Linked DNA regions of Homo sapiens: regions 1 and 2 are each linked to region 3. The links are contacts of gene promoters, found by promoter capture Hi-C in blood cells and fetal thymus (Javierre and others, 2016). All regions are on one chromosome and are shown on one strand. Each heading gives the region's core, a stretch centred on a gene start or on the middle of the fragment in contact. The rest is flanking DNA. Distances are from core to core; before and after follow the strand shown.

Evidence for each region. Contacts are between HindIII fragments. The CHiCAGO score rates a contact against its expected background, and 5 or more counts as called.
Region 1: a fragment that was not itself captured here is called in contact with the fragment with the promoter of PRMT2 in region 3 in 2 of 17 cell types (naive CD8 T cells and total CD8 T cells); the score reaches 5.8 in naive CD8 T cells.
Region 2: a fragment that was not itself captured here is called in contact with the fragment with the promoter of PRMT2 in region 3 in 10 of 17 cell types (naive CD4 T cells, total CD4 T cells, naive CD8 T cells and 7 more); the score reaches 13.7 in naive CD4 T cells.

Annotation. Positions count from the first base shown.
Region 1 is chr21:46,432,658-46,436,722 of GRCh38, forward strand. PCNT (pericentrin) reads left to right here. Exons shown (of 47, transcript NM_006031.6): 39 at 3,247-3,491. Among named protein-coding and RNA genes, the nearest start is that of DIP2A, 24 kb to the right of the region's middle. The HindIII fragment of the contact is 8,168 bases long and covers 1-4,065 here.
Region 2 is chr21:46,452,433-46,456,204 of GRCh38, forward strand. It overlaps LOC124905046 (a long non-coding RNA gene), which reads right to left. Exons shown (of 2, transcript XR_007067915.1): 2 at 1-3,486. Among named protein-coding and RNA genes, the nearest start is that of DIP2A, 4.6 kb to the right of the region's middle. The HindIII fragment of the contact is 7,328 bases long and covers 1-3,772 here.
Region 3 is chr21:46,633,182-46,637,069 of GRCh38, forward strand. It overlaps PRMT2 (protein arginine methyltransferase 2), which reads left to right and starts at 2,493. Exons shown (of 12, transcript NM_206962.4): 1 at 2,493-2,582; 2 at 3,258-3,366; 3 at 3,715-3,809. The coding sequence starts at 3,771. RefSeq lists an enhancer at 1,591-2,261 and silencers at 2,032-2,251, 2,362-2,911. The HindIII fragment of the contact is 1,501 bases long and covers 1,675-3,175 here.

The DNA.
Region 1 (4,065 bases), core at 49-2,548, 200 kb before region 3:
TCTGTCACCCAGGCTGGAGTGCAGTGATGTGATCTCAGCTCACTGCAGTCGCCGCCTCCTGGGTTCAAGCAATTCTTCTGCCTCAGCCTCCCACGTAGCTGGGACTGCAGGCACATGCCACCACGCCTGGCTAATTTTTGGATTAGTAGAGACAGGGTTTTCCATGTTGGCCAGGCTGGTCTCAAACTTCTGACCTCAGGTGATCCGCCCGCCTGGGCCTCTCAGACTGCTGGGATTACAGGCGTCAGCCACCACACTCGGCTGTTTACTTAGGCCTTCTTTAGTTTCTTTCAGTAGTGTTTCATTGCTTTCAAAATATAAGTTTTATACTTTTGTTAAATTTATTTACTTATTTATTTTTTGAGATGGAGTCTCATTCCGTCACTCAGGCTGGAGTGCAGTGGCACGAACTCAACAATGTTGAATAGAAGGGATGAGAGCAGGCCGGGCACGGTGGCCGATGCCTGTAATCCCAGCACTTTGGGAGGCCAAGGCAGGCAGATCATTTGAGGTCAGGAGTTCAAGACCAGCCTGGCCAACAAGGCGAAAGCCCATTTCTACTAAAAATACAAAAAATTAGCCGGGCATGGTAGTGTGCACCTGTAATCCCAGCTATTCGGGAGGCTGGGGCAGGAGAATTGCTTGAACCCGCAAGGCGGAGGTTGCAGTGAGCCGGGATTGCACCGCTGCACTTCAGCCTGGGCAACAAGAGCGAGACTCCATCTCAAAAAAACAAAAACACTCTTTGGAATAGTCGTAGTTTTTTTTATCTCCAGAAGCCTTGGAGAGTAGGGAGGTGGTTTGGTGGTACAGACAGTGTGGCCAAGCATGGCAGGGGCGTCTACACAGGACCCCAGCTGAGGGTGAGACGTGGTGTGTGTGTTTGCCTTTCTCCTGGGCAAGAGCTCATCCTTTGATGGAATGCTCAAAGGAGTCTTTACTTTTTGAGAACTTCCTGAAACCACGCCTGAAGTTGCCAGCCAAAACCTTTAATTTTGATTGTTTCTTAAAAAAAATAGTAACATGAGTGCTTAGAAAATATTTTCTAAGTTGCTTGCTTCAGGATGCATCTTGACCTGTATTTTGAGTGAGGTGGCCCTTCCAGAGTGATTTATTTATTAATTTTTTTTTTGAGGTAGAGTCTCGCTCTGTCTTCCAAGCTGGAGTGCAATGGCACGATCTTGGCTCACTGCAACCTCCACCTCCCGGGTTCAAGTGATTCTCCTGCCTCAGCCTCCTGAGTAGCTGGGATTACAGGTGCATGTCACCACGCCCAGCCCAGCTAATTTTTGTATTTTTAGTAGAGACGGGGTTTTACCACATTGGTCAGGCTGGTCTTGAACTCCTGACCTTGTGATTGATCCGCCCACCTTGGCCTCCCAAAGTGCTGGATTACAGGCGTGAGCCACTGTGCCCGGCCTCCAGAGTGTTTTTTACTGAGGATAGTGAATTTGATCTGGATTATAGAACCCTTCTCTAGCTGTAGCCATGGAAGCCTCCCAAGATAGTGGCATGCTGGATACAATTCCATCTTTTCTAAATAATACAATCTCATTAGTTCCTCTGTATCTTACTTTCCTTACTAGAAAATAGAAAAGATACTCATTCCTGTTTAAGAGGCCCGAGCATTGAGTGAGGCGCTGTCAGGAGGGTAGAGTCTGAGCTGCACCCTGGTCACCGCAGTGGCAGGGGCGCTGGTGCCACACAGTGCAGGCTCAGCTGTGGGTCCTCTGGGCTGGGAAGGCCTCAGCTCAGTGCTGGGGTTCCCTCCCTGACACGGCAAGCCGCCTCTGTGTGTCTGCATCTTGGGCCTCTTCCCGCTGGATCTGTCTTTGTGTTGTCACAAGGAAGCCCCAGCGGCGCTGCTGGGAATCAGAGGCCCTTCAGAGGCTGCTTCGTCCTTCCTTGCCCCATCGTGCAGTAGACCTTCTGTCCCCTGCCTGGTGGGAGTCGGGCCCTGGGCAGGGGCTCAGGCGCTTGCTGACACGCTTCTCCCGGGCACCAGACATGGCCTGTGCCCCCGTCCTGCAGAAGGAAAGGCTGCTGCTCCTTGAGGTCTGGCTTAGGAGCTCAGGCCCACGTGGCCACCCAGGCTCAGCCCCAGGGCTGCACTCAGGCTCATACGTGTGTGCATGTTCACATGCACAAATGTGCCTGTCTGTGTCTATGTTGGTATGAGCGTCTGGGCGTGTGCGTGTACATATGTGGATGAGTGGGACCAGGGCACAGGGAAGCGTCATCCGGTCTGTTCTGTTTCAGCTTCTCAGGCTCCTCTCCTTTGGACCCCGCGTGCTTGCCCTGGGCCTGATGAAAGCCTGATAGTTTTAAAAACTACGATGGAAACGCTTTTACCACTGAATCATTCTGGGGTGTGTGATTCAGCTGCCTCCATGCTGGAGGGACACAGAGCAGCACAGCACGAGGGTGTGCAGTGTGTCAGCTGTGGGTCCCAGTACAGGACCACAGGGGCTGCCTGCCCGAGGGCCTGTTTCTGGTCTGTGAGGGGCCTCCCCTGTAACGCGGCTGTGTGTTTTGGGCTTTTGCTTGGCAGTTGTTGTTTTTTTTGTTTTGGTTTGGTTTTTTTTGGTAGATGGAGTCTCACTCTGTCGCCAGGCTGGAGTGCAGTGGCGCAATCTCAGCTCACTGTAACCTCTACCTTCTAGGTTCAAGTGATTCTCCTGCCTCAGCCTCCCGAGTAGCTGGGATTACAGGTGCGCACCACCACGCCCAGCTAATTTTTATATTTTTAGTAGAGACGGGGTTTCCTCATGTTGGCCAGACTGGTCTCGAACTCCTGACCTCAGGTGATCCGCTTGCTGCAGTCTCCCAAAGTGCTGGGATTACAGGCGTGAGCCACCACACCCTGCTGGCAGTTTTGTGTTTTGTTTTGTTTTGTTTTGTTTGAGATGGAGTCTCACTCTGTTGTCCAGGCTGAAGTGCAGTGGCGCAATCTCGGCTCACTGCAAGCTCTGCCTCCCGGGTTCACGCCATTCTCCTGCCTCATCCTCTCGAGTAGCTGGGACTACAGGCGCCCGCCACCACGCCCGGCTAATTTTTTGTATTTTTAGTAGAGGTGGGGTTTCACTGTGTTGGCCAGCATGGTCTCAATCTCCTGACCTCATGATCTGCCCGCCTCGGCCTCCCAAAGTGCTAGGATTACAGGCATGAACCACCGCGCCCGGCCGGCAGTTTTGTTTTTGGACACTGACGTGAACGTCTTCTCTGTCTTTTTTCTGTTAACAACAGCGAGAATTAGAACTGCAGCGTCAGCGTGACTTGCATAAGATCAAGCAGCTTCAGCAGACAGTGAGAGACCTGGAGTCGAAGGACGAGGTGCCTGGCAGCCGCCTCCACCTAGGTTCTGCCCGCAGGGCTGCCGGCTCGGATGCGGACCACCTCCGGGAACAGCAGCGAGAGCTGGAGGCGATGAGGCAGCGGCTGCTCTCTGCCGCCCGGCTTCTCACCAGCTTCACCAGCCAGGCCGTGGACAGGTGTGCACCCACGCCACCTGGCGCTCACTGGTCCCTTGCAGCCACCCCTCTGTCCCAGACCCGGCCCGAGGGCTGGGGCGCGTCTGGTGTGAGGCCCCTGCTCCTTTGCACTTAACGCTCTAGTCCTCTTTCTGAGACTTTGCTGAGGGATTCCGGATTGGCAAGATGGCATGTTCATATTCTAATGTCAGAGAAAAAAATCCTGTGATTCAAAATACGCCTGACGTGGGGCTTCCATGTTCCTTTGAGGGTTGGCTTGGTTCTCTTTACACTCTGTGTAGTTGCTCACCACCCACAGGGTCGGGTTTGGAGCCTCCTGTGGCCCCCCCCCCCCCCCCCCGCTGGCACTGCCCAGTGTCACTCAAGGCCACTCACACCCAGGATGACGATCGTGATATTTCATATGGGCAGAAAGGGTAATGCTAATGTTTGTCTTTTTCCCTATACACAGAAACTCGGCAAACACAGTTCTCCTTTCTATACTTGGACTTAATGTATAGAGCAGCATGATTTCTAAGCAAAGTTTCACTTAGGACAGCATTTTAAATCATTCATTCCAGAGGAAAGCCACGGG
Region 2 (3,772 bases), core at 321-2,820, 180 kb before region 3:
ACTTCCGATTGTTTTCCTTCCAGGCCCTTAACCAGTTACCCAGGCCCTCTAGCATTGCCCATGGCTCCATGTATATTCTCACCTTGGGCTACTTCTTCCACAAAAAAGTGGACGACCAGGAGCTCTGCCTGAAATTCTGCCTATTGAGAGGATATGCCCTTATCACCATTTTTCAAGGTCACCCCTGAGAAGGCTGTAATGTAGCTGCTATTTTCATTTTGAACTCATACTGAGCCAACCCATTTATACACCATGCTCACGATTTTTACTCCTGTCAACTGGCTATAAGGGCCCCCTCACACTGTCACAGGTGTGAAATGACATTGTGGCTGATCCAACAGTTCTGGAAGTCATGTGCATCTGTGCTCTGCAGCTCATTTGGTAACCTCTGTACATTCTCATGCTCAACCTTGAATATACTACTTCCATATTATGAGGGACCGTTGCTGGCCCCAACTGATGTTATGACTTTTGCTAGTTTAACATTAACAGGCAGTTCTGGTTGCATGGTCACCTGGTGGCTTACGGTCAGGCGTTCCATCTCTGTCAGAGACAAGTGGCATACCAGAAGACAGATCTACACCCGCCCGCCCCCCAAATGCATACAATTCTCTGCTCCAGGTGGCATGACAGAATCTCTACATTGCATCATTCTGCACCATTAATAACACCAAAAAAACACCTGTTGGACTATATGGCCCAGGCAATAGCATTACTTCATCACAACCCGGATCTACTGTACAGACGTTTCCAGTTCTGGGCTCTTTCCAAAATTGGAAATCTCCCAATTCCACTAGTCTCTGGACCAGAGCAATACTCCCAGGTGTGGGACATGCTGCCTCCAGAACCTGAGGCAAGAACTAGCTCGAGAACCAACAAGCGTCTTGCTTTCTTAACGGCAGGAGGTGCAAGCAGCAATAATTCATTCGCTTTTGGAAGGGATGCCCTAGAGCACCCCTGACCACTGGAGCCCTAAAAATGTTAGGATTGTAGCAGGCTCCTGGATTCCTGTAGGGTTTATATGCCACTCTCTGGAGCAGCTGTCTCCAGGATCTTCTGCACTTCTCATCTGGCTGATCAACATGTCACTGATGTAAAGGAACAATGTAATATTCTACAGGATGTCTAGGTGGTCCAGATCTCTTTGGATTACGACAGAGAGCAAGAGAAGTAACATAACCTTCCGGCAAAACTGCATTTTAATTCCATGCAAATGCAAAATGTTTTTGATCCCTGATAGGTACAGAAAAGAACAAATCCACCTAGTCAACAACTACCTACCATATCTGGCAGAGAGGCTATTACGGATACTTTTTTTTTTTTTTTTTGAGATAGAGTCTCACACTGTCACCTGGGCTGGAGTGCAATGGCATGATCTCGGCTCACTGCAACCTCCACCTCCCAGGTTCATGGGATTCTCCTGCCTCAGCCTCCCAAGTAGCTGGGATTACAGGTGCACACCACCACACCCAGCTAATTTTTTGTATTTTTAGTAGAGACAGGGTTTCACTATGTTGGCCAGACTGAACTCCTGACCTCGTGTTCCGCCCACCTTATCCTCCCAAAGTGCTGGGATTACAGGCGTGAGCCACTGTGCCCGGCCAGGGATACTTCTTAGATGAGTTTGCAGCAGTGTACCCAAAACAACTACTGGTTGACAGCAAATAGAGTAGGCTGCCATTCTCCAGGATCCTTGTGACTTCTGCAGGGGTCATGCTGGTAAATTAAAAATGTTGGTAACCACCACTTTACATCACTTGGATCCTTAGAAGTGGCACTTATCTCTGCCATTCCCGCTCTGGGATAATTGTTTTATAATCTTGGTAGGGGATGGGGCAGTTTCAGGTTTCTGTTTGGCTTTTTCCATTTTGTTATCTAACTCTATAGGTCAGGGACCTGGAATGAGCATTCACTGCCAAGTATGTCAATGCCAATTACTCACTCGAAGGCTAAGAAAATATCACTAGATCAGTCCACTAGGTCTACGGGTCCACTGTAAGCTGGACCTTTAGCAGAACTCCATCAATTACCTGGCCACCACATGCAGCCACTCTAACAGAAGGGGATGATATTCTAGGCATCTGGACATCAATTTAGACCCTGTGTCCACAAGTCTTCCAAATGTTTGGCTAATCACTTTTCTCCAGGATGTAGTTATCAAAAGAAATTGCTATCAGACCCTTTGGAAAAGTACCTGGGGATTCATTTCTGTTGTACTTGTACTGTTATAGGTCCTTCTTCCTGGTGTTTGGCCACCTCTCAAGTAATGTTTCCATTTCTGAAAACTGGCTCAGTTCCAGAAGCTGGGCATGGAATCCTGATTTTTTAAAACTGGGACAAGCATCTTTATTTATTTTTTTCAATTGAGACAGTCTTGCCACATTGCCCGGGCTGGAGTGCAGTGGTGCAACCACAGCTCACTGTAATCTTGAACTCCTGGGCTCAAGTGATCCTCCCACCTTAGCTTCCCCAAATGCTGAGATTACAGGCACAGGCCACCGTGCCTGGATGGATTTTTTTTTTTTTTTTTTTTTTTGCCAGCTGAGTAGTACCCTTCTTAGCTGCCCACCTGTTTTGCCTCCAGGGATGCCATGTTTATTGACCAGTTCTATAACCATACAAGTGAGGTCCCCTTGGCTGCCACTCAGACCCTGCTGGCTGCTATAATTGCAATCCTCTGACTTCTGCCAGCTAAGTGTTGCCTTTGGCTTCTTGGGTTTTTTTCTTTGGTCCCCACTATGTCCCAGAATGGCCTCTTTTGTCTTAGGATCCTATCATCCCCAGTGCTATCACCCAGCCAAGTTCTGGAACAGCCTTTCTATTGTCATTCTTGCCTACAGAGATGAGCCATCACTGAATATTTTAGTGACATCAGTGCCCCTTTCATCATCCTATGTCTAATGATCTTTATAAATGACGTGTTATTTACACCTTCATGTGGAATATGATCGTCTCAAATGTCTTCTAGATGCACGGAGTATATAAATTTCAACATGCCCACACCCCTGAACCTTTTACTCCCTTCCACCACTGTCTGCCATAGCAATTTTGCCATTTCAATTTTGCTTACCATGGCCCATGGCTTTTTCCAAGTGTGGTGTTTTAAAAATATACTGGCAAATTTTTTGATATTCTTCCCTTTAGAAGATGAAGCCTAATTCCTCTCCTTTTGAATATGGGTAATTTAGTGACTCATTTCTTCCAAATAGGAAGTAGCCGAAGTGATGGTATGCAACTTCTGAGGCTGGTTCACAAAAAGGATACAGCTTTCTTTTGTCCTTTGTCTTTAGATTGCCCTTGGAATCCAGCCATCATATTGTGAGAAAGCCTCGGCCACAGGGACCGGCCGTGTAGGGGTGTGCTGGCTGACATCCCCAATCTGGGCTGCAGCCAATCTCCAGTATCAGCTGTCAGACATTCGAGCAGATGAACCTTCACTCATTCCAACCTCTAGCCTCTGAACTGCTCCAGCTGAGGCCTCAGACACTGTGGAAGAGAGATAACCAATCCCCACTATGTCTGACCCACAGTAACCTAGAGAGATCACCGATCCCCACTATGTCTGACCCACAGTAACCTAGAGATAAGAAATGATTCTTGTTTTAAGCCACGAAGTGTGGAGTAATTTGTTAGGCAGCAGTAGCTATACCGCCATTCTAGGAGCCATCCTTGCAGGAAGTCTGCAGCCACTCTTTGCCAAGGTGTTAAATCACGTATTTCAATAAACACATCTATGCAAGTTTACATTCCAGCTCCCTTCATCAAGCACCCT
Region 3 (3,888 bases), core at 1,243-3,742:
CCCAACACTTTGGGAGGCCGAGGTAGGCGGATCACTTGAGGCCAGTTTGAGACCAGCCTGGCCAACATGGTGAAACCCCATCTCTACCAAAAAAATACAAAAATGAGCTGGGTGTGGTGGTGCAGGCCTATAATGCCAGCTACTCAGGAGGCTAAGGCATGGGAATCACTTGAACCTGGGAGGTGGAGGTTGCAGTGAGCTGAGATTGTGCCACTGCACCCCAGCCTGGAACACAGAGCCAGACTCTGTCTAAATAAATAAATAAATCTCATTATCATATTTCAGCTAGGACTAATTGCTGCTATTTCAGAAGTACCAAGTATCAAACCAGAAAGGGCTTAATTTAGGAACTAAACCCAGGCTGTGGTGGTGGAAAAAAAGAAGGCAGAACCCTTAGGTATGGAACTGCAGTGTGGGGTGACAGACATTACTCTTTTTGGTTGGTCTGGCTAGCAAAAATGTGGCCTTGTTATGTAAGAAAAGCCCTTTAAGTAGTCAAAATAAATTTTTTTTTTCTTTTTCCTTTTGCTAGCTGTTTTTCTCCCCCCACCACATCACCTTTTGTGTGTGTGTGTGTGGTGGGGAGGGGTTGAAACTTAGCCACTTCAGAGGCCTCACTTCTCATAATTTGGAACTTTCCTTTGGTTTCGATCAAGTCAGATAGAGTTCGTCAAACTCAATGCGAAAAAGACAAAAGAACAAAAAACAGAAACAACAACAAAAAAACCAGTTAAGCGAAACGAAGGATTGGGCAATTTATAAGGTTACTGAGCACACTAATGGTAAGGAGAAATTAAGACCAGCTGGTTGTTAATCTTAATAGCCAAGACAAACCCCAATTCAGTTACTTCCTAGGGATGGGTCTGAGGCTGAAGATTGCTCTCTACCACCCTAGAAGCAGAGGAAGAAAACCCCTCATCTTTCCTGTGGGAAGCGAGCTCAAACTCCATAAACGAGTTACCTGCCTTCCATTGTCATGGAAGCAGGAAAAAACTACTACTTCCTTATGTTGGAAGAGAGTAAAGCACACCCCGCCCCCCAACCCCCGCCCAACACACAAAAGGAGTTGTACAGCAAAATAAACTAGATCTTGACTAAATCTGGGTAGATCAGGGATTCTCTGGAGGGGGTGCTTCCAGGCCTCAGCAAATTGTCCTATTGGTTTGAGCCATAAAGATAGCTCAAGCTGGTACTAAGGACTGACAGATTTGTCAAAGGTCAGTGGCACCTCTACTCAGAATCCCTTTGTGGTTACCAAAATGTGAACCTTGAATATCTGAGTCAGATCTCAGTCAACTTAGGAAGTTTATTTTGCTGAATTTAAGGATGCACGCCCATGACACGGCCGTCGGAGGCCCTGATGACATGTGCCCAAGGTGGTCAGAGCACAGTTTGGTTTTATACGTTTTAGGGAGACATGAGACATCAATCAATATATGTAAGATGAACATTGGTTTGGTCCGGAAGGGCGGGACAACTCAAAGCAAAGGCAGGAGGGAGCTTCCAGGTCATAGGTAAATATGAGACAAATCATTGCATTCCCTTGAGTTTCTGGTTAGCCTCTCCAGAGGTGGCAATCAGATACGCATTTATCTCAGTGAGCTGAGAGATGACTTTGAACAGAATGGGAGGCAGGTTTGCCCTAAGCAGTTCCCAACTTGACTTTTCCTTTTAAGCTTAATGATTTTGCGGCCCCCAAATTTATTTTCCTTCCACATTTTTTTTTTTAAATCAGACTTAAGGTCTGCCTTGATGTTAATGCTGGAGGAGTGTAAAAAGGCATGTCCAACTCTTACTTCCCTTCGAGGCCAGAATAGTCTCTCAGGTTGAACTTCAGGGTCCCCTGGTAAAGGAGGGAGTCCAGTCAGACGGCTGCGGGGGAGGGGGGGCTTCGAATTTTATGTTTTACAGGCATTAGCGCCACCCATTTCTCCTTAACCCCAAACTTCCTCTCCCCACAACAGAAACGTCATCATTCTGCTTCCACTTATCCAGAAGAAAGGCAGAGGGCGCACACTGCGCAGCGCGGATGGGAAAGTTAACTGAATTATTTGCGGGAAGACAGAGGAGGTGGGGGGTCCCCCAAGCCCCAGCCATTTTGTGGCTCGTAGGGGTTGTCGCTTCCCAAGCCGTGAATGGCCCAAACCCGCCCCCCGCCCCAGGTCGGACTCCTGCCCCGCGCCCCTCTGGGTCGGACCCCAAGCCGAGCCCCCCAACCCCGCGGCTGGGCTGGGCGATTGGGGACGAGCTCCACACATGGAGAACCTGGCCTCGCCTCGCAAGACCGCGGGACGCGCAGATGTGAAGTGCGCCTGCGCGGGGCGCAGCCCCAGCTGCAGACGATCTGTGAGCGACGCGCCGGCGCAAGTCGAGGGCGGTGGCTTGGCTTCCCTGGAATGGGGGACGTCTTAGGACTGCGCCTGCGCGGGGCGCCGGGCCCTGGGCGGGGCCTTCCCGGCTGACGGCCTGCGTGCACTGCGCTTGCGCGGGTTGAGGGCGGTGGCTCAGGCTCCTGGAAAGGACCGTCCACCCCTCCGCGCTGGCGGTGTGGACGCGGAACTCAGCGGAGAAACGCGATTGAGGTAGGTGTCCTGATGGGCAGCTCAGATGGCTGGACTGCACGTAAGGAAGGACAGGCCAGGTGAGGCGTCCTCGCACTGCGTGTGCGTCGCTGGCGGACAGAGGCCTCCGCCCCCTTTTGGGACCTCCGAGCGCCTTCGCGATCTCAGCCACTTTCCCTGGCGTCCAAACGGGAGCTCGGTCCCCGTCACACCCTTCCCTGCGTGCCGCACCCCTTCCCGGCCACTCCCGCCGTCCAGCGCCTTCTACGGCCACGCCCACCCCACCACCATCTCTGTCACGCCCTTCGCGGCCACGCCCACCTGCCTGGCGGCCCCTGCCCCGAAGCTCGCGGCGCTGTCCCAGCCTGACCCTCTCGTGCCCCTGCGTCCACGCGTGGCCCTCTCGCTTCCTGCCCCCTTCTCACCCCCCTTCACTGGCCACCTGTTCCAACCCTCCATGATCCTGTTCCTCCCGAGGGCATCTTAGGAGGGCAGGGTCCTGCGCGCACTGCGGCCTCCACTCCGACCCCGTCCCAGTTTGGACCCAGGTCTTCCAATGAAAATATAATTATGCAAATCAGTAAGCATTTGTAACTACGAATATCACAAAAATAAGCTTCAAGTCTGGATTTAGAAGTGAAGCATGCATTTTAAACAAAGAATTGCTATGCAATTTTAAAAACACATTGATCCCAGAGCAGTGTGTGGATTACACTATCACTGGAAAAATACGAATTGAGAAGAAGGAAAAGACTGGAAGATGCAGACCTTGGTTCCTGTTAGTGGAAACACTGTAAGGTCCCAGGTAGGGACTTTTAATTGGAATTAAAGCTATCACACTTCTAAGAAATTAATGAATACTGATTTATTGCCTTAAGTCGACACCTGATCTAACAGAAACTAACAGGCTTCAGCAAATGAACAAGATTAACACCTTGCAGACTAGTGAAGAAAACACACTATTTGAAGTTTATGATTTTTAAATGCTTTTGTCTCTGTAAAGTATTGTAAATTTTCATTTCTACACTAATCTTCACACATACACATTTTACTTCTATTTGGTAGAGGACATCATGCACATTAGAAGTTAAGTGAACTCAATTATTAAGCAATGTAACAAGTACTTTGTGTCTCCTTCTCTTTTTAAAAGTAGAAATGGAAAAGAAAATGAAATAAATCAGCAGTTATGAGGCAGAGCCTAAGAGAACTATGGCAACATCAGGTGACTGTCCCAGAAGTGAATCGCAGGTAATTTCCGTTCCACTTCCTAAAAATCTGTGTTTAATGAATGTGAGCATTACAGAGAGCTAAGCGTCAGCTCACAGAT